Regions from separate parts of the Homo sapiens genome. Here regions 2, 3 and 4 are each linked to region 1. Evidence: promoter capture Hi-C in human tissues and cell types (Jung and others, 2019). All regions are on one chromosome and are shown on one strand. The core of a region is centred on a gene start or on the middle of the fragment in contact, and the rest is flanking DNA. Distances in the headings are between cores, read along the strand shown.

What was found. Contacts are between HindIII fragments. The study calls those that stand out against the background at their distance.
Region 2: a contact is called between a fragment that was not itself captured here and the fragment with the promoter of GLIS2 in region 1, in 2 of the 25 tissues and cell types used here (dorsolateral prefrontal cortex and heart left ventricle).
Region 3: a contact is called between a fragment that was not itself captured here and the fragment with the promoter of GLIS2 in region 1, in 4 of the 25 tissues and cell types used here (IMR-90 fibroblasts, aorta, dorsolateral prefrontal cortex and 1 more).
Region 4: a contact is called between a fragment that was not itself captured here and the fragment with the promoter of GLIS2 in region 1, in 2 of the 25 tissues and cell types used here (aorta and stomach).

What each region holds. Positions count from the first base shown.
Region 1 is chr16:4,314,084-4,319,187 of GRCh38, reverse strand. It overlaps GLIS2 (GLIS family zinc finger 2), which reads right to left and starts at 3,121. Exons shown (of 7, transcript NM_032575.3): 1 at 2,934-3,121. RefSeq lists enhancers at 559-1,208, 1,209-1,859, 3,981-4,493, 4,494-5,006 and a silencer at 4,286-4,580. The HindIII fragment of the contact is 26,266 bases long and covers 1-5,104 here.
Region 2 is chr16:3,867,132-3,872,235 of GRCh38, reverse strand. All of the region lies in intron 1 of CREBBP (CREB binding lysine acetyltransferase), which reads left to right. Among named protein-coding and RNA genes, the nearest start is that of CREBBP, 11 kb to the left of the region's middle. RefSeq lists an enhancer at 1-197 and a silencer at 734-1,028. The HindIII fragment of the contact is 4,672 bases long and covers 242-4,913 here.
Region 3 is chr16:3,949,929-3,955,032 of GRCh38, reverse strand. TRIDDENT (TRIM28 interacting DNA damage repair enhancing non-coding transcript) reads left to right here and starts at 4,589. Exons shown (of 2, transcript NR_120311.1): 1 at 4,589-4,761. It also overlaps a transcript of ADCY9 not described here. The HindIII fragment of the contact is 4,154 bases long and covers 244-4,397 here.
Region 4 is chr16:4,011,513-4,016,616 of GRCh38, reverse strand. The region is part of intron 2 of ADCY9 (adenylate cyclase 9); the gene reads left to right. Among named protein-coding and RNA genes, the nearest start is that of TRIDDENT, 64 kb to the right of the region's middle. RefSeq lists a silencer at 1,035-1,329 and enhancers at 4,229-4,873, 4,874-5,104. The HindIII fragment of the contact is 9,071 bases long and covers 1-5,104 here.

The DNA of each region.
Region 1 (5,104 bases), core at 1,872-4,371:
AGGGATTCAGGGGACACTTTTCTCTGCAGCCACCCCCGCCCCAATTCCACCCAGCACAGGGCCTCTCCCATGGAATCAATTTCCTCCTTAGGTGCCAGAGACCCCTGGGCCTCCCCTTAGAGGCAGGAACCTTCGGAGGCAGCCTCTGGGGCTGGGGGTCAGGCCAGGCGACCCACAAAAGTGCCTCCCCAGGAGCCCCCCCAAGATGCCCCACAAGAGCTCCACATCTGGTCCCCCAGTCACAGCTGTCGCCACCCTCCCTCATCCAGAGATTGCCCCAAACCCTGGCCGGCACTGGCCCTCACCCCCTGGTCCAAGTGGGGAATTCAGATTCCAGGCGAGTGGAGCGGGTGGCTAGAAATACACATGGGAAATTGTTGCCGGGAAAACACATTCTTCCTCCTATATGGCTGCCCAGACCCTGAGAGGATTAGGTGGTGAGAGGACACTCCCACCGCCCGGGGCCAAGGCCAGGCCGGGAAGGAGGGTGGAGGGGAGAGTGGGGGCCTTGGAAATGGGGTCCAGGCCTCCCTCCAGGCCCCAAGAAGGGGCCCTGGGAGACCTTTGTTTTCCCTCCGGCCTGTTCACTCTCAGCCCTCTACTTGTCCTCCCTGCAAGGGGAGTTCAGGCGGGGGAAGAAATCGCTGTGGCTACCCAGTTGCAGCTGGGTTTCTCAGAAACAAAAGCTTTGGGGGGACGCGGTTCACACGATTGTTTGCAATGAGGTTTTGGGATGTCTGTGGCATCCAGTTATTCATCCGGGCTCCACCCTCGGATAATTGAGAGTTGGCTTTTGCTGGATTTACACCCTCTTTCCTCCCCCTGACCCCCCTCCACCCAGGCTTCTCATGGACTCTGGGAGCTCACCTGGTCTGACCCCTTGGTTTCATAGACAAGGCCGGGAGAGGGGAGGAGTCTGACCCAAGGACCACTGGAAGTTGGTGGTGGAGCCAAGACTTGAACCCAGGGCAGGAGACTCCCAGGCCAGGGGCTTTCCCCGGTCACCCTCCAAGCTGTGACTGGGCTCCAGCCAATCCCCAGAAGCCACTGACCCCAAAAGCAGCGGTGCCTGGAAGTGGGGTGACTCACTGTCTGGCTTCCCAGGGCACCCCCTCCCCATTGGTGAGGGAGGGACTGGCAGGTGTCCCTGTGTAGAGAGCCAGGAGCAAGGAGAGAACTCCCCAGGGGGCCTGGGCCAGGGTCACTCAGGGGCCGAAGAGCCCCAGCTGGAGGGATTTAACACCAAAGGTCAAAGGTCACAGACAGGGAAGGGCGGGCAGGCACAGGGGGTCAGCGCTAATGGCAGCTCCGGAAAGGAGGGGGAGGAGGAAAGGCTAAGAAAAACAGGGTTGCTTCCAAGGGGTCCGCACACCCCCCAAAACACCATCCCAAGTCCCTGGCACTGTCTCCTGCTTGGCTGGCTGCAGACAGGGCCAAGTTGAGCTGGAGGTGGGCAGTGAAATGGGCCAGGCTGGAGCTTGGCAAAGGGTGTCCTGGGAGGGGCCTCCCAGGTGCAGCCCCTCCCCCTGTGCAGGCCAGGCCAGCTAGGAGGCCCAGCCTGGGCTCTGGGGAGAAGGAGAAGCAGAGGGGGAGGTCCGAGGTCACCCGGGATGGGTGTGTGGGCTGGGCCTGGACAGCTGTGGCACTGTGGCACCAGAATGGGGCTTGGGGAGGGGTGACCCAAGGGGCCAGTTTCCCCTCCCCTGAGCCCGGGGGCTGGAAGGCCCTCCGAAGCGCAGTGTCTCTGGGCTTCCTCCCCAGCCGCAGGCTGGCCCCACCTTCCCTCCAGGATGCCAGGACACGCAGGATGGCGGCCTACTACCCAGGGTGCCAGCCTCCAAGAACCATGGCCCAGGCCCTTTCCATGGCCCAGACCAAGCCCAGGCCTTGGCCAGGTCCCCAGCCGGCCTGGCTGCCCCCTCAGTGTCAAGCGTTCCCTCCAGAGCCAAGATCCTGGGCTGTGATGGCTGGGGGCCCAGGGCCCCTCCCAGCATCCCTTCCAGCTTCCCAGGCCCCAGGGCAGGGCTGGGCAACTCCTTGAAACCATTGCTTCCCGGCCACCCTCTGGCCAGGCTGGGCGGGCCCTCCTGGACAGGCAGACAGGCTGCACGCTGCCCTGCTGTGGCCCGAGTACCCTGCTGGGCAGGGCAGCATGCCAAGGCCTCCAGGTGCCAGCCTGGATTCCAGCCCCATCCCAGGGGGCCAGCGGGGAAGCTGTGCGTGCTTCTCCTCCCTCGGGATGCACCTGCCTCGCCCCCTCCTCCACCCGCTCCAGACCCGCCCTCCGGCGAGTATGGACCCCTTGCCATCTCCTCCCTGCCAGGCCGGTCGCCTGCGTCCACCCGGACCGCAGGGGAGTAACAAGTGCCTGACTTGTCCCAAACTCCCAGTCCTGACCCCCCAGGGACGCCCCTTCCCGAGGTCCAAGGAAGGACCCGGGCTTGCGAGGGGCAGCAGGAGGGAGACTCTCCCGGCCAAGGGAGGAGGCACCTTCCAAAGCCCTTCCTAGCAGCAGCCCCGGCGCGGCCGAGAGGAGGGGCGGCTGCCCCGGACAACTTCATGCCCAGGCTCCGGGTACCCCCCTCTCACCTCGCCGCACGCCCCCCACCGCGGCCGCCCAACTTCCCAGCTGAAGTTTGCGCCCGCCCCGGGCCCGGGCGCTGCTCGGCCCGGCCTCCAGACGGAGGGAAGGAAGGAGGGAGAAGAAAGACCGAGAGCTCGAGGGACCCGGCCGGGGAGCCGGCGAGGGAGGGAGCGCGCGAGCCAGCGAGCGAGCGAACGCGGGGGCCTCGGCGAGGGCTCACAATGGCCCGGGGCGCGGACGCGAGCGGGGGAGGAGACCCTCGGGCCCCGCAGCCCCGGCGCGACAGGCGGGCCCCCCCCCCCCCGCCCCGGCCCGGTCCCCACGGCGCGACGCCCGGGGGGCTTCCTACCTCAGCGGCGGGGGCGGTCGGGATCCGGGCTGCGGGCTCCGGCGGTCGGGGGGCGCGGGGAGCCGAGCGGGGGAGGGGCCGGGACGGGCGGGGGCCGGGGCGCGAGGCCTCACGGGGCGCGGGCTCCCCTGGCACGGCCGCCCGGCGCCCGGCCGCTCCGCCACATCTGCAGCTCGGGCAGGGAAGGTGGCCGCGGCGGCCGGGCCGTGCGGGGATGTCTTAGAGGGAGGGCGGGCGGGCGGGAGGAGGGAGGAGGGAGGCGGCGGGAGGAGGGCCCGCCGGCCGCGGAGGAGGGCGAGGAGGAGGGGCGCGGGGGGCGGCCTCCACCCCTCCCCTCGCTCGCTCGCTCCCTCCCTCCCAGCAAAACCCCTCTCACCGCTGCGGCCCCAGGCCCGGGGCGCCAGCTGCCAGGCGGGGCGTGCGCGTCGGGGGAGGGGGCGGCGGGAGCCGGCGCTGGGCCGAGGGAGGGGGAAGGGAGGGCGGCGCGGCCGCGGGGAGCGGGCACCGGGAGGGAGGGGTGAGGGAGGGAAGTGGGGCGCCGAGCCGCGCGCGTCCTCCTCGGCCCCATCCTCACGCCACCCCCCCCCCGCGGCCCCGCCCCCGGCCCGAGGGCAGCGCTAGGACACGGCCGGGAGGTGGCCTGGGGGGGCGGGGGAGCCCGAGACGTCCCGCCCTCGGGGAAGCCCGAGGAGGGGGCCGGGCGCGCGGGCCCAGAGGAAAAGCCCCGCAGACCGGGAAGATGGAGGAGGTCGCGGCGGCGGAGCGGGCGGGGACCCCTCGCCTCCTCCCGCGGGGTCACCTTGGCCAGGCCCCCCTGCGGCCCCGGGCGGCGGGGAAGGCGGCAGGAATGCCTCTCTGCGGGCCCTGATTTCTCCGCCCAGCCCAGTTCCAGGAACGCGCAGGCAGCGCCCGGCGGGCAGAGGTCCCGGATCCCGATGCCGGGCGGCGCAAACCAGTTTTCGGGGCCCGGCGCAACCCCTCACGCTGGTGAGACGGCGGGCGACTCCCTGCCGTGCCCTCGGTCTCAGTTTCCCTCACGGTAGAATAACGACGAGGCCCGATGCCGAGCAATCCGAGCTTCCGCTTGGTTCCTAGCTTGGTCCCAGCATTTGGGACCACCTGCGTCCACTAGCCCGAGCGCCGCGGGAGGTCTAGATCCCTCCTGGACATCAGCACCCTGCGCGGCGCCCGCGGCCAGGGCAGCGAGTGCAGTGAGCGGATACACGCGAGGGAGAAGCCCCGCACCCGGCCCAGCTGTTTTCTGCCTCGTGTTGAACCACAGACTCGCGTTCTTGAGTGTGTTTTGTTTGGGCTAATCCCGTGCCCCCCGCCCTGTTATCTTCTTGCTGCTCTGCTGTATGCTGGCAAATTGTAGTTCAAAAAAACAGCCCTCCTGCTGTTGGACACCCCCTCTTCCCAGCGCAGTTGGCCTTGAGGAGCCTAGGAGACGAAAAAGGCATCCCAGAATCAGCATCCCCTAGAGGTGAGGCATCTGACGCTGGTTTTAAGTCCGTCTTCATTCGTGCATTTGATGCTGCGGTCCCCGCCAGAGCCCGAAGCACGTGGCTCTTGATCACAAGGCATCCATGGCAGGCACAAGGCTTGGCACATAGTAGGTGCTCCTGGGCTGGTGCCCAGATGGACACATAGCAGGTGCTCATGGGTTATGTGGACACACAATCGATGCTCATTGCATTTTAAGAGAATGCACACATAGTAGGTGCTCATGGGCTGGTGCCCAGATGGACACATAGCAGGTGCTCATGGGTTATGTGGACACACAATCGATGCTCATTGCATTTTAAGAGAATGCACACATAGTAGGTGCTCAGGACGTTGTGGGTGAATGCACACATAGTAGGTGTGGACTCGTAATGGATGCTCATGTTTTGGTCTAATGAACACATATTAGGTGCTCATGACCTGTTGTGGAAATGGGCACATAGTAGGTGCGCAGGAGCTGTAGGTTGATACCTGGAAGGGATGTAGGAAGGCCGTTTGCCTGGAGCAAAGGCTCGGAAGTTGGCGATTTGGAGGTGACCTCCCCCAGCCTCCACCCTCACCTCACCCCGGTCTCCTGAGTGTGGATAATGTGGAGTGTGGCCGGGTTAAACATTAGCCGGGAGATGGGCCCCGGGGGAAGGCCAGTTTCGGGACCTAGCGCTTCCAGG
Region 2 (5,104 bases), core at 1,328-3,827, 450 kb after region 1:
TTTATTAAGTTCCTAGACAATATAGGCGGTGACTGTGGCTGTATTTAAAATACTGCCTTTAGGGTGTTTTCTGGTTCTAAATTTAGGAAGCAAGGCTATTTTTGAGCTCTGTCTCTAAAAGTTGAATTCCTTTTAAAACTTACCCTTAAGAAAGATTTGGATATTATCCCGTGTGACATTTTCCCCGGTGTTTCATTTCCATTAATCAAAAGACTGTTTAGTTGAACCATTGCTAAGAATAGTAAAATCTAATGGGGAAAATAATTCTACATGATTAAATCTGACTTTACTTTCCCATTTCTAGTTGTACTGTCTGCTATTGTTTGAAAATGTCTTAATTTGCCTTTCTAATATGCCTGTACTATATTGTATACAGTAGGTATATTTTCCAGTTGCACCTAATTCAACCTTTCGAATTTGCATAATCTGTGGTAAGGAGAAAAAGTAGTTGTGTAGTGGAGTTGTACAATTCTGTTGTAAAGCAAATCTTTTTATAATTCACAAGCTGCTTCTCCTCCCCCTAGTTTGGATTTTTCTTATTAAAACTGCACCACCTAAACATGTTTTAACTTTATGGTTAAAATAACCAGTGAAATAGAAAAATAAGTCACTGTTCTGTATGATAACATGTAGAGAAGGCTTGTACAACATTTAAATAAGGAGATTTGGGTATTTGATTACAAACTGAATGAGGACATTCAGGAGCTATAGAAATTTATCAGGTAATTAGGGTTTGCTTAGACAATTATAGACTCTACGAGTTTGACCCAGTTGCTTTGGATTAAAATATTTTGAGTATTTGTCACCTGATTAAAAGTAGAACCTTCTAACTGTGAGTCACAGTTGAAGGAAATGTCAGCTTTTTATACGGGGAGGCGGTCAGTGTGGTGCTGAGGAGGGAGCCCTGGCTCCTGCTCAGAGTAGACTGTGAGTCCCAGCTCCCAGCTCGGCAGCGCTGTGACTTGGGCTGGTGACATCACATTTGAGTTTTGCAGGGTGGGGTGTGTGTGTGTGTGTGTGTGTGTGTGTGTGTGTGAGTGAGAGAGAGAGAGAGAGAGAGATCTCTAAAAGGGGCTTTTTACCCTGCAGTATTCCATTTGTTTCTTTTCTTTCTCTTCTCTCTTCTTTCTTTCTTTTTTCTTTCTTTCTTTCTCTTTTCCTTCCTTCCTTCCTTCTTTTTTTCTCTTTCTTTCTTTTCCTTCCTTCCCCTTCCCCTTCCCCTCCCCTTCTTTACATTACTTTTCTTCTTTCCAATGGGGTCTTGCTTGCCCAAGCTGGTCTTGAACTCCCATCCTTCAGCAATCCTGCCTCGGCCTCCTGAGTAGCTGGAATTACAGGTGTGAGATGGAGCCACTGTGCCTGGCTCTACTTCTGCTTACTTTGATTATCTTGGTACATGGGGCTACTAGGGTGCCTGGCATATAGCAGGTTGAGGCAGCTGTTTTTATTGTTTAATTGTATGGGAAAATATTAGCCATCACCTACTTCTTGGGCCAGTGAGGACTAAGATGATGTAGCCTGACCCGGAATCAGGAGGCTTCTCACTGAATACATGGGAAGCTTCTGCCCCTGCCTGTTTGGCTTTCAGTGCCAGCTCTAGTGCAGTTTGGGAACCAGTTTGTAAGAAAACGAACTAAGATTCGAGAATCTTACAAAATGGGTAATCGTTTGACTCATTTTACTCCGTCTGTGTTTGCAGTTCAACTGTTTTTTATTGGAAAATTGAACTCTTAATTAAATGGAACTCTGTTTCTAGTTATTGCTTCAGAACAAGGGCTTGATTTAGATTAGGACTTAGAGAAAAGGGAAAAGTAAATGCAGAGAAATTATAAATATAGTATTTTATTGAAAACAGAGTTGGGAAGAAAATGGCCTTGGGATCACTGTCCAGTTTAGTCAGGTTGGTTGAAAGGAATACCAGTGAAACTCAATTGCCTCTCGGGCTCAGCTACACAGATCTTGAAAGGAACAGATTCAGCTCTGTGCTGTACTGTGTGACTTTTCTCCTCCTGCAGATTCTATAGTAGGAAATTCTTTTAATGGAGATTACTGTTTTTCTGTTCTCCTAGATTTGGTGTGATTTTTTTTTTTTATAAGTAAAAGTTACCCCGTGGTGGACAAAATTTTTCCCCGATTTGTGGATATCTTTACTTAAATCTGATTTACATATTCAGAACGTCACCTTTATTGAAAATAACAAAAAGACATAACATATTGATAGGTTTTCTGTGTCATTGTGGTTGTTCCTCTACTACTGTGGGAATCGGTTTTTGTTTGAAGAGCACACCTGCCCGTAGTTGAACTTCTGTTGAGAAGTCTCTGAGGGAATCATTTGAATGATGGCAAGAGAATCAAGTGTTTTGCTTTCACTGATGGCTTTCTCAGTCACTGAAACTTTAGGGGAGAACGGATTCTTTCCCAGGAGGAAGAGGGTGAATTGAGATGTTTCCTTGTTTGGGGATGCCTGTGTTCTCGGGATGCCCTCCAAGCCAGCGCTGTCCAGTGGTCGTTATTGGGAGGGCGGCTCTACGCTGTGTCTATATGACACAGTACTGGAACCACGAGCCACGTGTGGCTGTTGAGTACTTGAATTGTGATTAGTGTGACTTAGGAACTAAATTTTAAATGTTACCTGGTTTGAGTAAATGAAGATAGCCACATGTAGTTAGTCACTACGGTATTGGACAGCACAACTGTAAGTACATTTACTTATCCTCTTTGTCTAGAGTTTTCTTTAAGATACGTATCACCTAGATATTTATGACAAAGTTCCTTTAAAACGATCATCTTTTAAAGATGCAAGACTCCAAATTAAAAATGATGAAAGACTCCTTCAAAAATATTCACGGCTTAGGTCACACTGTTCAGGATTATTCACTAATTTAGAAAATATTTGTTATGCTGTGATGTAGGCCCTGGCGATCCAGTGGGGATGTGACAGGCCCCATCTCTGCCCTCATGGGTGGTGATGGATACTGGACAGGTAACTGCAGTCAGGTGTGACCTTGGAGGGGACATACTGTGCATTGACTGAGGCACCAGATGGGGACTGAGCCTGTTTTGAAGGGTATTGGAAGTCCCCGGGGGCTGTGACGTTAGCACTGACACCTGAGGGTGAATAGGAGATGGCAGATAGTACTGTTCCAGGCAGAGGGAACAGCACTCATAGCAGGGTGGAGGTCTGGCTCTTGTGACAGTTTTTGGGTTATGTTCACTGGGCTACCAGAATTTAGGAGGCCTCATGGTTTTGCTTCTGAGATGGTGGAGACTAAAGGTGTGGTTCTGCCCTGCGGGGGTTGGTCGGCCCGGGATCCAGTCTTGACTCCTACCACTTCATTCTTTTATTCAGCAAATATTTAAGCACATTTTACGTGTGGGGCACCCTGCTGGGCTGTGGTGATGACAGTAGTGGCAGAAGCTGCTTCTGTCCTCATGGAACTCTGAGTTGTGTGGTGTGGTGGGTGAGCAGTCCCGTGGTGCCCACCGTGGCCTATAGCATTTCACACTCAGCTCGATGTCTGACTGGAAGGAAGTGGATGCCTCAGGCTGGGTGGTCAGGGAGGCTTGTTGGAGGAAGGACACCAGAGCTCATTGAGGGTGAGTAGAGCATCAGCTTGGGCATCTGAAGGCGAGATAACATCACCAAGGGCCTTGAATGTCAGACCTAGGAGTCCAGGTTATTATTTTTTTTTAGGGCTTATAAAACAAAATTAAGCTTTAAAAAACCCGTGTCCAGAGTGATTGGGGGAGCTCCTGTGATTTATTTTCCAGAAGTCTAGATTAGCTTTTTCAAGGTGTGTTTTTTCATCCAAGTTCAGGTCTGTAGGGAGAGTAGACAATGCTTTCCCCTCCTGAGCCCCGTTTTTGGCAGGAAAAGGGCCCCATGAAAAGCAGCTTAAGAACTGGAACTAGTGTTCTTATTTAAGATGTTAGTAAATTTTTGTACAAACAATTTTCTTTTAAAAGTTTTTTTAAGTTCTTGTGAGTAGATAATATATTCATATGGTTCAGAATTCCAAAAAAGCAGAGTAATTGGTGAAAACTCTTCCTCCTGTCTGTTTCTGGGGTCACTGGTCATTCCCCTCCCCATAGGCAACCAGTGTTAGCTGTTTCTTACGTATTCTAGAGATGGACTGTGCGTAGCCAGGCAAATATGGTCTCTTCTTACTCTTTTTGCCCTAAGTAGCCCATTTTATGTAACTCTACTATCAGTGCCTTTCAGACTGATACATATCTCAGAGCTGTTGGAAATGTTAGTATTAGAAATGCAGGCTTTGTTCTATTTTTTTAAATTTATTTTTATTTATTTTGAGACAGGGTCTCACTCTGTCCGCCAGGCTGGTGTGCATTTATTTGATCACAGCTCACTGCAATGTCCACCTTCTGGGCTCAAGCAATCCCACCTCAGCCTCCCAAGTAGCTAGGATGACAGGTGCATGCCACTATGCCTGGCTAATTTTTTTTTTTTTTTTTTTTTTAGTAGAGATACGGGGTCTTCCTATGTTGCCTAGGCTGGTCTTGAGCTCCTGGGCTCAAGCAGTCCTTCAACCTCAGCCTCCCAAAGTTTAGGGATTACAGATGTGAGCCACTATGCTCGGCCCAGGCTTTCTTTTAATTAATTAAGTCTTCTTTTTTAACGGTAAAATGTTTTGGTGCTGCATTTAGATAAATAACACAAAACAATTTTAATGTTTTCTCTATGTTATATAAATAGGAATAATTGAAGTTTTCTTGTTTTTTGTTTGAGACGGAGTCTTGCTCTGTCACTTAAGCTGAAGTGCAGTGGTGAGATTATAGCTCACTCTAGCCTCAAACTCCTGGGCTCAAGCCATCCTCCCACTTCAGCCTCCGCAGTAGCTTGGACTACAGGCACGCACCACCATGCCCAGATAATTTTTTATTATTTTTGTAGAGACAGGGTCTTGCTATGTTGCCTAGGCTTAAAGTTTTTTTAAAATTAATTCCATGTCATCTCAAAGAATATTAGAGGTTTTGCTACTGTCATCAAAATGCATGTCATGCAGCCAGCTCACACAGAAGTTGTGTTTATTGTTTCTCAATTCCTGGAATAGATTCTTAAAACTTCTGGTTTTTATTACCCACC
Region 3 (5,104 bases), core at 1,071-3,570, 360 kb after region 1:
TTTCCAAGTTCCCCCGTCTCTTCATTCACCTGTCTGTTATACTGGCAGAATGATGACAGGCTCAGACCTGCGTGCTTTGAGAGAAAATCTAGCATGTTCTAGTACGCTAAGTTTGTGGCATGACATGTAGGCGTGTCCCCCTCAGCCTCTACCTCGGGATAGTTAACAAAACTCCAAAAGAGTTGGCTGTGTTCCCAACCAATGGCTCTGTCACTGCCTCACACACAGGGCCTCCCCATCTGTGTCCACAGTAATCATCGCTGTGGATGGCTCTGCCAAGAGCTCCCCTGTGTGGACTCCAGTGTTGCGGCTGCTCTGAGATGGCCTCTTCCTTCCCTTACTCCTGCAAAGCAGCAACCTCCCAGCATCAACGTGCGATGCTGGCCCTCAGCCGGCCCCCTTGGCTTCTTGGTGAACCTCGTGTTCCGTTTCTGACGCTTTTCCTGGTCTGGACCCTACTCACTGGCCCAGAGGGAGACACTCCTAGCCATTCCCTGTAAGCTGCCACTAAGTCCCGGAGGTCCCTTCTGGTTTCAGCACCAGGCAGCTGCCCGAGCTGCGAGCTGGGAGTTCTGGGCCTGATCCCGGCTCAGAAAGAGGAACTTCATCCATTCGCTCCTGGGCTGGCCCAGCAGCAGCACGCCAGGCTCTCAGACCAGTGTGGGGCCCAGAGAGCCCCACCCAATCCCACCAATTGGAATTAGGGGAGGGCAGGGACAGAGCAGAGGACAGGCTGGGAATGCCCAGAAGAGTGGATGTCGAAGCATCGTCGTTCACCAGGACCCAGTGTCTGCAAAGCTCAGCTCCCAGCCTGCCCCGGCCAGCTCAGCGACGCCCGTCCTGCAGCTCTGCATGTCAGAAGCCACTGGACGGGGTGCGTCAGTGGGGCCTCTGGGTACATCCTCCTCACCCTGCAGCATTAAACCAAAGTGCTAATGATAACACCCAGATGAGTGCCAAGTGGAAAAATCAGAGCCTTACCATCCTCTGTGAAATCCTGAGTCAGTTTCACGCTTTGTAGGCATTTTAGGATTCAGCCATCCGTGAGATGATCCAGTTATTCCAATCAAATTCCACCTTCTCAATCCATGCAGCAATCCTCACACCAAAAACCATTCTGGGAGGCGTAAGAGCTGTGACGCGGCTCTGACAGCGACCTCCCCGTGCTGATGGTCACTTTGTCCCCACAGGTTGCCAGAACCTGATGTTTTTGCTGTTCGTGGTGTTGGATGGCTGCAAAGGGGTGACGGCGGTTCAAGCAGGCTTCTGACTTGTCCGTCGTATCCCAAAACCGGCGTTTTTTCCACACACACTGGCTGAAGCTTCCTACCTGTGGGCTTGGGAGCTTGCTAGTCACAGAATAAGGAAATCCACAGGTGTTAAAGAATCCGTCCATTCCAAAAGCGTGGATGGTTTTTTTTTAATCATCATGTTTTCTAGAAATTGCTCGGTTTTTATTTCTTTCCTCCCCTCTAACCCTCTTCTTATCCGCATTTTCCCATCTTCTCTTTTCCAGAAGACGAGAACCCTGTGGAGAGGGAGACTCCAAGTTTCCCTTCAGTTCACAGGAAGAGAGTTGCCGTGCAGGAGCCTAATTGTAAATTTGAAAAAATTAAAAACTGCTTATGCTCTGTCAATTACCAAAACGAGGAAGGACTGTATCTGTGAAATACGTATATATTTTTTGAGATGGAGCCCCGCTCTGTCGCCCAGGCTGGAGTGTAGTGGCGCGATCTCGGCTCACTGCAACCTCTGCCTCCCAGGTTCAAGTGATTCTCCTGCCTCAGCCTCCCAAGTAGCTGGGACTATAGGCACAGGCCACCACGCCCAGCTAATTTTTGTATTTTTAGTAGAGATGGGATTTCGCCATGTTGGCCAGGCTGGTCTCGAACTCCTGACCTCAAGTGATCCGCCCACCTCAGCCTCCCAAAATGCTGGGATTACAGGCATGAACTGCTGTACCCGGCCTGGTTGTTGCATTTTAATGTACTGAGCCAAGCACCAGGCTCCAGGGACACTGCTACTAGGTGGCCTGTCCTTGGCTCTGATGCAGGCGCTTCCAGGAAGAATGGGCTGCAGCTCTGTGCAGCCTGCCTGTGCTGGGCCAATGTCAGCTCCCCTTGCTCGAACAGGATTGGCCAGAACACGCCCTGTGCCTGCGAGCAGCCTTGAATGCCACTGGGGATTTGAGGTTTAGGCGTCCCGTTCCTTGAGCAGGAACCTCTGCAGAAAGGCAATTAGAAGAACAAAGTGCCCTCTCCCTGACGGTCTGTCTCCCTCACACCAAAAAGGAAGGTGAAGCTTCCTTTTTAAGGAGACCCCTTTTTAAGAACCACGGGGTAGCTGTGGTGGTTCACGTCTATAATCCCAGTGCTTTAGGAGACCACAGTGGGAGGATCACTTGAGCCCAGGAGTTTGGAACCAGCCTTGGCAACAGGGGTTGGAGGCTGCAGTGAGCTATGATCATGCCACTGCACTCCACCCTGGGCAACATAGTGAGACCCCATCTCTACAAATGATATAAAAGGCACCTGGGGGTGGTGGTGCGTGCCTGTGGTCCCAGCTATTCAGAAGCCTGAGGCAGGAGGATCGCTTGAATCCAGGAGTTCAAAGCTGCAGTGAACTGTGATTGTGCCATTGCACTCCAGCCTGGGCACCAGAGCGAGACCCTGTCTCTTAAAAAAAAAGAAGAAGAAGAAACATGTATGAGATAGAGCGCTGCAAATCTGGTTCCAACTTTCTCTGTGATTTTGCTGGAATTTGTTCAACACTGAGCTCACAGACAGCAGTGAACCAAAACTTGTTTTCTTTGGACTGCTTTGAGCAAAAATAGAAGAAAGGGGCTCATTTTTTTCCAGTGATTTTTTATTTTTCATCAATAGTGCAGATCCAAAGTAAGTATTTATTCACTGGCCTGATTTCCCAATCTTTTAACTTAGAAGTATGATTGCCAGTTTCCTAGGTTTTTAAGAATACGCTGAAAACAAGCTGCCAAGCTTAGGAGCCGAGAACCATAGAAAGTTCTGTCCATGTGCTTGGATCAGATTTCCAGCACAAACTGTGATGTGTACATCGCTTAACTCGGAGTCTGACTTTTGTTAGCTGTTGTTGGATGAACAGGTGTGTGCAGCGGATGAGTAACATGATACAAAGAGAGGTTGTACTTCCGCTGGGAGGAGAATGGGCATTTGGGTTTTTGTTGTTGTTGTTGTTTAATTTCAGCCCAACTGTTTAGAAAGAAAATTCTTGCTGTCTTTACCACTTTGTGCTGCACAGGGAGGTGGGAAGGAGGATGTTAGACGTGCGTATTAACAAATGCTCTTATGGCTACATTTTTTGGTCCATGCAAAAAAAAAAAAAAAAAAGTTCGTCTTTTTTTTATCCAGTTATCAAACTTGTGTAAAAATAAGAAAGTATATCCTTAAATAGAATTGTGCCCTGGAAGGAACCCAGATGGCTCTCTTGAGATTAAAATAGTCATCCCAGCCGGGCACGGTGGCTCATGCCTGTAATCCCAGCACTTTGGGAAGCCAAGGCAGGAGGACTGCTTGAGGCCAGGAGTTTGAGACCAGCCTGGCCAACATGGTGAAACCCCCTCTTTACTAAAAATAACAAAAATTAGCTGGGAGTGGTGGTGGGTGCCTGTAATCCCAGTGACTCGGGAGGCTGAGGCAGGACAATCACTTGAACCCAAGAGGCGGAGGTTGCAGTGAGCCGAGATCACGCCATTGCACTCCAGCCTGGGCAACAAGAGCGCAACTCCGTCTCAAAAAAAAAAAAAAAAAAACTTAGGGACATCATTCTCAGTTTTTTTTAAAGGGTACTAGTTTTAGTTTTGATTTACCAATTTATGTTTCCGAGACGTTTTTTCAATGAAGTGAGTCACTTTTGAACTATTGTGAGGCACTCATTCTAATTTCATGGCTCTCAGTTTACAGGAACATAACATTTGATGCCAATGAAATTCATTAGAATTCTGCGCTATCCTGTGAACTGCGTGCCCATCTGTCTTGTATGTGTTTCCAGGGGTGGCTTACAATGGTCTTCGCCATGTACTGGATGGACGTGTACTTATTATGAATCCTCACACCCTGAGACCCAAGAGGATCCCTCGTAAAACAAGGCCATATCTGATTTGGATTAAAATCCCCACGGAGAACCTGATGTCACCCAGGAAAGTGCACGTCTCCTTGCGTGCTCTTGAGAAACGGTTGAGAAAACAGTCCTTCCAGCTCAGTAAATACCATTTTCTTTCTGTCTGCTCACCACCCTTGCATTTGCAATAAACCTGACAAAAACTTCCAGAGCGAAAATAAGAATGTTCATATTTGAAGGAGATGTTGGCAGACGGCCACAGACTTCAAGTACGCAAGCTCATTCCGCTCTTGCTTTTCTGCCAATAACTCCTTGGCCTCCGCGCACTCTGCACAGGCGGGGCCTGAGGACGGATCATGATCGTGTCCGATGATCACGGACCCGCCGGAGACTCTCAATGGAGAGGCGATGAGTCACAGCCAAGCGAACTTTCTCTGCTCCTGAACAAATTGCTTCTCCTCGTCGTCCCACTCCAAACCTAGAGGTGGGACAACCCCAGCATCCTGGGCGTGAACGCACCCAGCTTGATTGTCACATGGGGAATAGAGACCTCGCGCCTGCCTGGCATAGGCCAACCCAGTAATGTTCATTTAAAGCTGGCTTTACTAGTCCTTCTTCCACAATGAGAGGTGACCCTTCACTTCACCGAGAAAGGAAGGAAGAAAGGTAGGTGCAGGGAGGAAGTGGTGGGGCGAGGGGAGATGGCCTGAGTGGGGGTGAGAAGGAACGAGAAACAGGAAGGAGTCAAATGCCTTTACTGCTTTTAAAGTGGATTTGACGGCCAGTAGGATTACAGGCCGGGCGCGGTGGCACACATCTGTAATCCCAGCACTTTGGGAGGCCAAGGGGCGTGGACTTGAGGTCAGGAGTTCAAGACCAGCCTGGCCAACATGGTGAAATCCTGCCTCTACTGAAAAATACAAAAACAGGCAGGGTGTGGTGGCACACACCTGTAATCCCAGCTAGTCAGGAGGCTGAGGCACAGGAATCGCTTGAACCCAGGAGGCAG
Region 4 (5,104 bases), core at 1,459-3,958, 300 kb after region 1:
AGTTTTTCCTTTCTCTTCTTTCTATAATCTATTTTTCATCATCTACACTGTGTGCTTGAATCAGCACCTCTTAGAAACCTACGGATGAGCTGTTAGCTCTCTAGGGACAAGAACACGGTCTGGGACCCCCGTCCCTGCTGCAGGTGTGACCTGACCCCCTCCCTCTGCCGACGTGACCTATCCCCCTCCCTCCCGTCTGTGGCATCTGGTGCATTTGGTGCTGTCATTTCACAAATAAAAGGTGATCAGCTGGTGGTCTGTTTCAGTTCTGGTATCTTTCCCCAGCTCTCTTGTTTCATAGCCTCTTCCCATTATTTAAACTCTGCTCTGTTACAGGATTCTTAATAGTTATTGCAGACCTTCATTTCCATTTTGTTGTCTGCAACTCATTGTTGAAGTGCCATTTGTTGCTTCTGAACAGCCCATAGACACTTGGACTTGAATGCATATGACTCTCTTCTTGTGGGTCCAGATCGTCACTCACTGACTGTCCTCACATTCACAGCTGTTCTCAGGACAAGCACCGTCTTTCCCTTTTTCGGATGTCCCTGTTTACCTGAATCAACTCATTTAATCCTCACAACAGCCCTGTGCTATGATATGACCATCATATCACAGCATTTTCGTTTTCTTTTTCTTTTATTTTTTTGAGACAGGGTCTCATTCTGTCACCCAGGCTAGAGTGCAGTGGCGTGATCTCGGCTATCTGCAACCTCTGCCTCCCGGGTTCGAGAGATTTTCCTGCCTTAGCCTCCCGAGTAGCTGGGACTTACAGGCACCTGCCACCACAGCTGGCTAATTTTTGTAGTTTTAGTAGAGACAGGGTTTTGCCATGTTGGCCAAGCTGGTCTTGAACTCCCGACCTCAAGTGATCTGCCCACCTCGGCCTCTCAAAGTCCTGGGATTATAGGCGTGAGTCACCGCGCCGGCCAGCATTTCCATTATCTAGACAAGGGAACTGAGGTCAAGCATTGGAGTGAAAGTCACCTAGGTGGCTTTTTTTCTTTTTTAACCTATTTATTTCTTTCAACCCTTAGCCCAGATCCTAACCTTCGGTAAGTACTCAGTAAACATTTAGTCTGCTGGGTGCATGAACGAGCGAATGAGCAAATGAATGACAGCGATAGCACCTGGTGGGCTGTTCGCTGGTGTGCTGGGTGTGCTGGGTGTGCTGGGTGTCGTCTCTCAGAGACTCATTTCTACAGTCTTTGTGAAGGCTCGTGCTAGTAAACCCTAATTCAAGAGGTTTCTTAGAGGTGGGAGGCGAAGGTCTCTGAAGTGTGTGGACTCCTGGACTCTCCCTATGTTAGCATTCTGGAATGTAGCATTTAGCAGTGGGGCATTTATTAACTCGGAATACAGAAGATAAGAAGCCAAGCCAGGCACGGTCGCTCACGCCTGTAATCCCAGCACTTTGGGAGGCTGAGGTGGGCGGATCATGAGGTCAGGAGATCGAGACCATCCTGGCTAACACGGTGAAACCCCATCTCTACTAAAAATACAAAAAAAATTAGCCAGGCATAGTGGTGGGTGCCTGTAGTCCCAGCTGCTCGGGAGGCTGAGGCAGGAGAATGGCGTGAACCCGGGAGGCAGAGCTTGCAGTGAGCTGAGGGAGCCACTGTACTCCAGCCTGGGCCACACAGCGAGACTCTGTCTCAAAAAAAAAAAAAAAAAAAAGGCCAAAACAGGGGAATGTGGTCACTCAGGGGATGCCTGTCATTCCCATTTGGCTGTGATGGCAGCTGTTTAGCCATTACTGGGAGAGAGAGGGAAGCTGGGTATAGAAGGTACCTGTTTAGAAGCAGGGGTGGGGAAGCGGGAGGGAGAGAGAGAGAGAATGCGTGCACATGCTCTAAAATTTTATTTTCTGGCTGGGTGTGGTGGCTCACGCCTTTAATCCCAGCACTTTGGGAGACAGAGGCAGGCGGATCATTTGAGGTCAGGAGTTCGAGACCAGCCTGTCCAGCATGGCAAAACCCCCTCTCTGCTAAAAACACAAAAATTAGCCAGGCATGGTGGCACACACCTGTAATTCCAGCTACTCAGGAGGCTGAGGCAGGAGTATTCCTTGAACCCGGGAGGCGGAGGTTGCAGTGAGCTGAGATCGCGCCACTACGCTCCAGCCTGGGCAACAGAGCAAGACTCTGTCTCAAAAAAAAACAAAAAAATTTTTTTTTGGTTAAGCAGAAGATCAAATTAAACAGGCAAGGTGCCTACCCTTTGTTTCTTTCACTTTCTTCCATAAATCCATCTCATATTTTATTATTTGGGACTTCTTTTTTTTTTTTTTTCTTTTTTGAGACAAAGTCTCACTCTGTCACCCAGGCTGGAGTGCAATGGTGCGATCTCGGCTGACTGCAACCTCCGCCTCCTGGGTTCAAGCAATTCTCCTGCCTCAACCTCCTGAGTAGCTGGGATTACAGGCATGTGCCACCACGCCCAGTTAATTTTTGTATTTTTAGTAGAGACGGGATTTCGCCATGTTGGCCAGGCTGGTCTCAAACTCCTGAGCACAACTGATGCTCCCGTCTCGGCCTCCCTAAGTGCTGGGATTACAGGAGTGAGCTACCGCGCCTGACCTGGGACTTCATTTGTTAAGAAGAGGTTAAGTTTCACCAGCAGCCATTTGTAGTAGGAACTTGAGATTTATCATCAAATATTGGGACAACAAGAACAAATCAGTTCTTATGATTATTTATGGTGCATATGAGTAGGAAGGACTTACAACCCTCCGGAGAGCATTTTAATGTTAACATATGAAAGATATTCTCTCTTTTGTACCAAAACTTTTGTTCTTCTTACGCAGAAAGAATAGATAATTATAAAATATATCTATGACTCCATAGGCTTTGGCTATTTGGTAGATTAAGAGTATTTTTATCTTTATTTTTCTTATTGGCTGATTACAGTTTAGTTTAAATAACTCTCATGCCGCTTGGTCGTTTCCGACCTAGTCGTGAGGAAGAATGCAATGCAAAGTGAAAGACGTTTTTGGAATGTTTCTGAACCAGCCCAAGCTGATTGCCTCTTTTCTGTTTATTGTTTTAAGTCATAAGTGACGTAAGCTTCTAGGCATTTGTTATGCTATGTGGCTGGCTCCCAAAGTCATGTCTTAAAACATTCTTTCCTTCCTGATTATTCTTCTCTTTCTTGTTTTTCTTTTCTTCTTTTTCTTTTAATTTTTTTTTCTTTTTTGAGACGGAGTTTCACTCTTGTTGCCCAGGCTGAAGTGCAATGGCACGATCTCAGCTCACTGCAACCTCCGCCTCTCAAGTTTAAGCGATTCTCCTGCCTCAGCCTCCCAAGTAGCTGGGATTTACAGGCGTGTGCCGCCACGCCTGGCTTGTTTTTCTTTTTCTTTTTTTTTTTGAGACAGGGTCTCACTCTCTTGCCCAGGCTGGAGTGCAACGGCGCACTCACAGCTCACTGCAGCCTCAACCTCCCGGGCTCAAGTGATCCTCCCATCTTAGCCTCCTGGGTAGCTGGGACCACAGGTGCCACCACACCCAGCTGATTTTTAAATTTTTTATAGAGATGGGATCTCGCTATGTTGTCCAGGCTGGTCTCAAACTCCTGGGCTCAAGTGATCCTCCTGCCGCGGCCTCCGAGAGTGCCGGGGTCACAGCTGTGATCCCCGTGCCTCGCTGTTGTTCTCTTTCTGTTGAGTTGGCAGTCAGGTCCTTGATTCTTGGTGGCTGAGGGTATCTCAGTCCAAGGCAAGAATCCCACAGAAAGAGACTGGGACAAATGAGGCCAGAAATGGGCCTCGCCCATCACTCTTTTCCAAAATGGGCTTTGTCAGTCACTCTTCCTATACTTGGGTCACCAAACCTGATCACCACTATGTGCAAAGTGCAGTTTTAGTTTTCAAAGAAGTGACACTATACTTAAGAATACTTAAGAACGTTAACTGCGTTAACCTCCACGCACACAGCCATAGACAAATTCCCCCGTCAGACAGGAGCCCATTAGGAAATGCCCACCCCTCTCTGTAGCCTTTGTAAAATTAAGCTGATAAAAGACATCGCTGTTGTTGAGGTTTAAAATCAATGGATAACCAGGAAAGAATATAAGAAATCATATTAATTATTCTCCTGTTTACACTACACTTAAATCATTTAGCTGTCTTTTTTTTTTTTTTGGACCTTCTGCTGCAAAAGAGCCATTCTAATGAACTTGGACCCCAGGGTCCATGTGTGTGGTTATTCATTAAATCATGTCGCCTGCAGAGTCTCCTGACTTAAGACTTTCGCTGGGCTTGAACTCAGTAACCTGTCCTGATGTATTTCTCAGGCGTTTGTGATTAGGCAGCTGGGCTCTGCCTTACCTGTCAGGGTGATAACCCTTCTGGTTCTGACAAAAGGTTTCACTTTAAATTTAGCTTTCCATATTGAAGCATAAATAAAAAGATAATTTACTTCCCGATTTTGCTCGTTGTGGACACGGAGGTGTGTTTGACCTTCGTAAAGCTAGTAGGATCATGTTATCACTATGGGTTGGTCATTCAGCGCTTCCTAAAGAAAAACTCAAGTCAGAAACAAATCAGGAGCAATTATTGATTTAACAGTTTTGCAAATGCTTTTGTATGTAGAAGGTGCATGAAAAAGATTCCAGTGATACGCAGATCAAACACTGCGTCGATAATCACAGCTAATGTCGAGTGCTTGCTGCGTGCGTGTTGATCATTTAAGCCTCACATGCGAGCTGTGTGGTAAGCCCTCCTCCTGCCCTCGCCTTAGAGATGAGGAAACTGAGAGGCAGCGATGAAGCAGCTCACTAGCCCTGCTCCTGTCCTCCCCTTAGAGATGAGGAAACTGAGAGGCAGCGATGAAACAGCTCACTAGCCCTGCTCCTGTCCTCCCCTTAGAGATGAGGAAACTGAGAGGCAGCGATGAAGCAGCTCACTAGCTCTGCTCCTGCCCTCCCCTTAGAGATGAGGAAACTGAGAGGCAGAGATGAAGCAGCTCACTTAGATCACGGGATTAGGGGGCGGACCTGGACCCGACTCCGAGGCCCCCTCCAGCAGCCAGGCCCTCGCCCATCACGCTTGGTTGCTTGTAATGGGAGCCTTGCCTCTCGCCAGCAGTTTGTGGGGAGTAGGTTT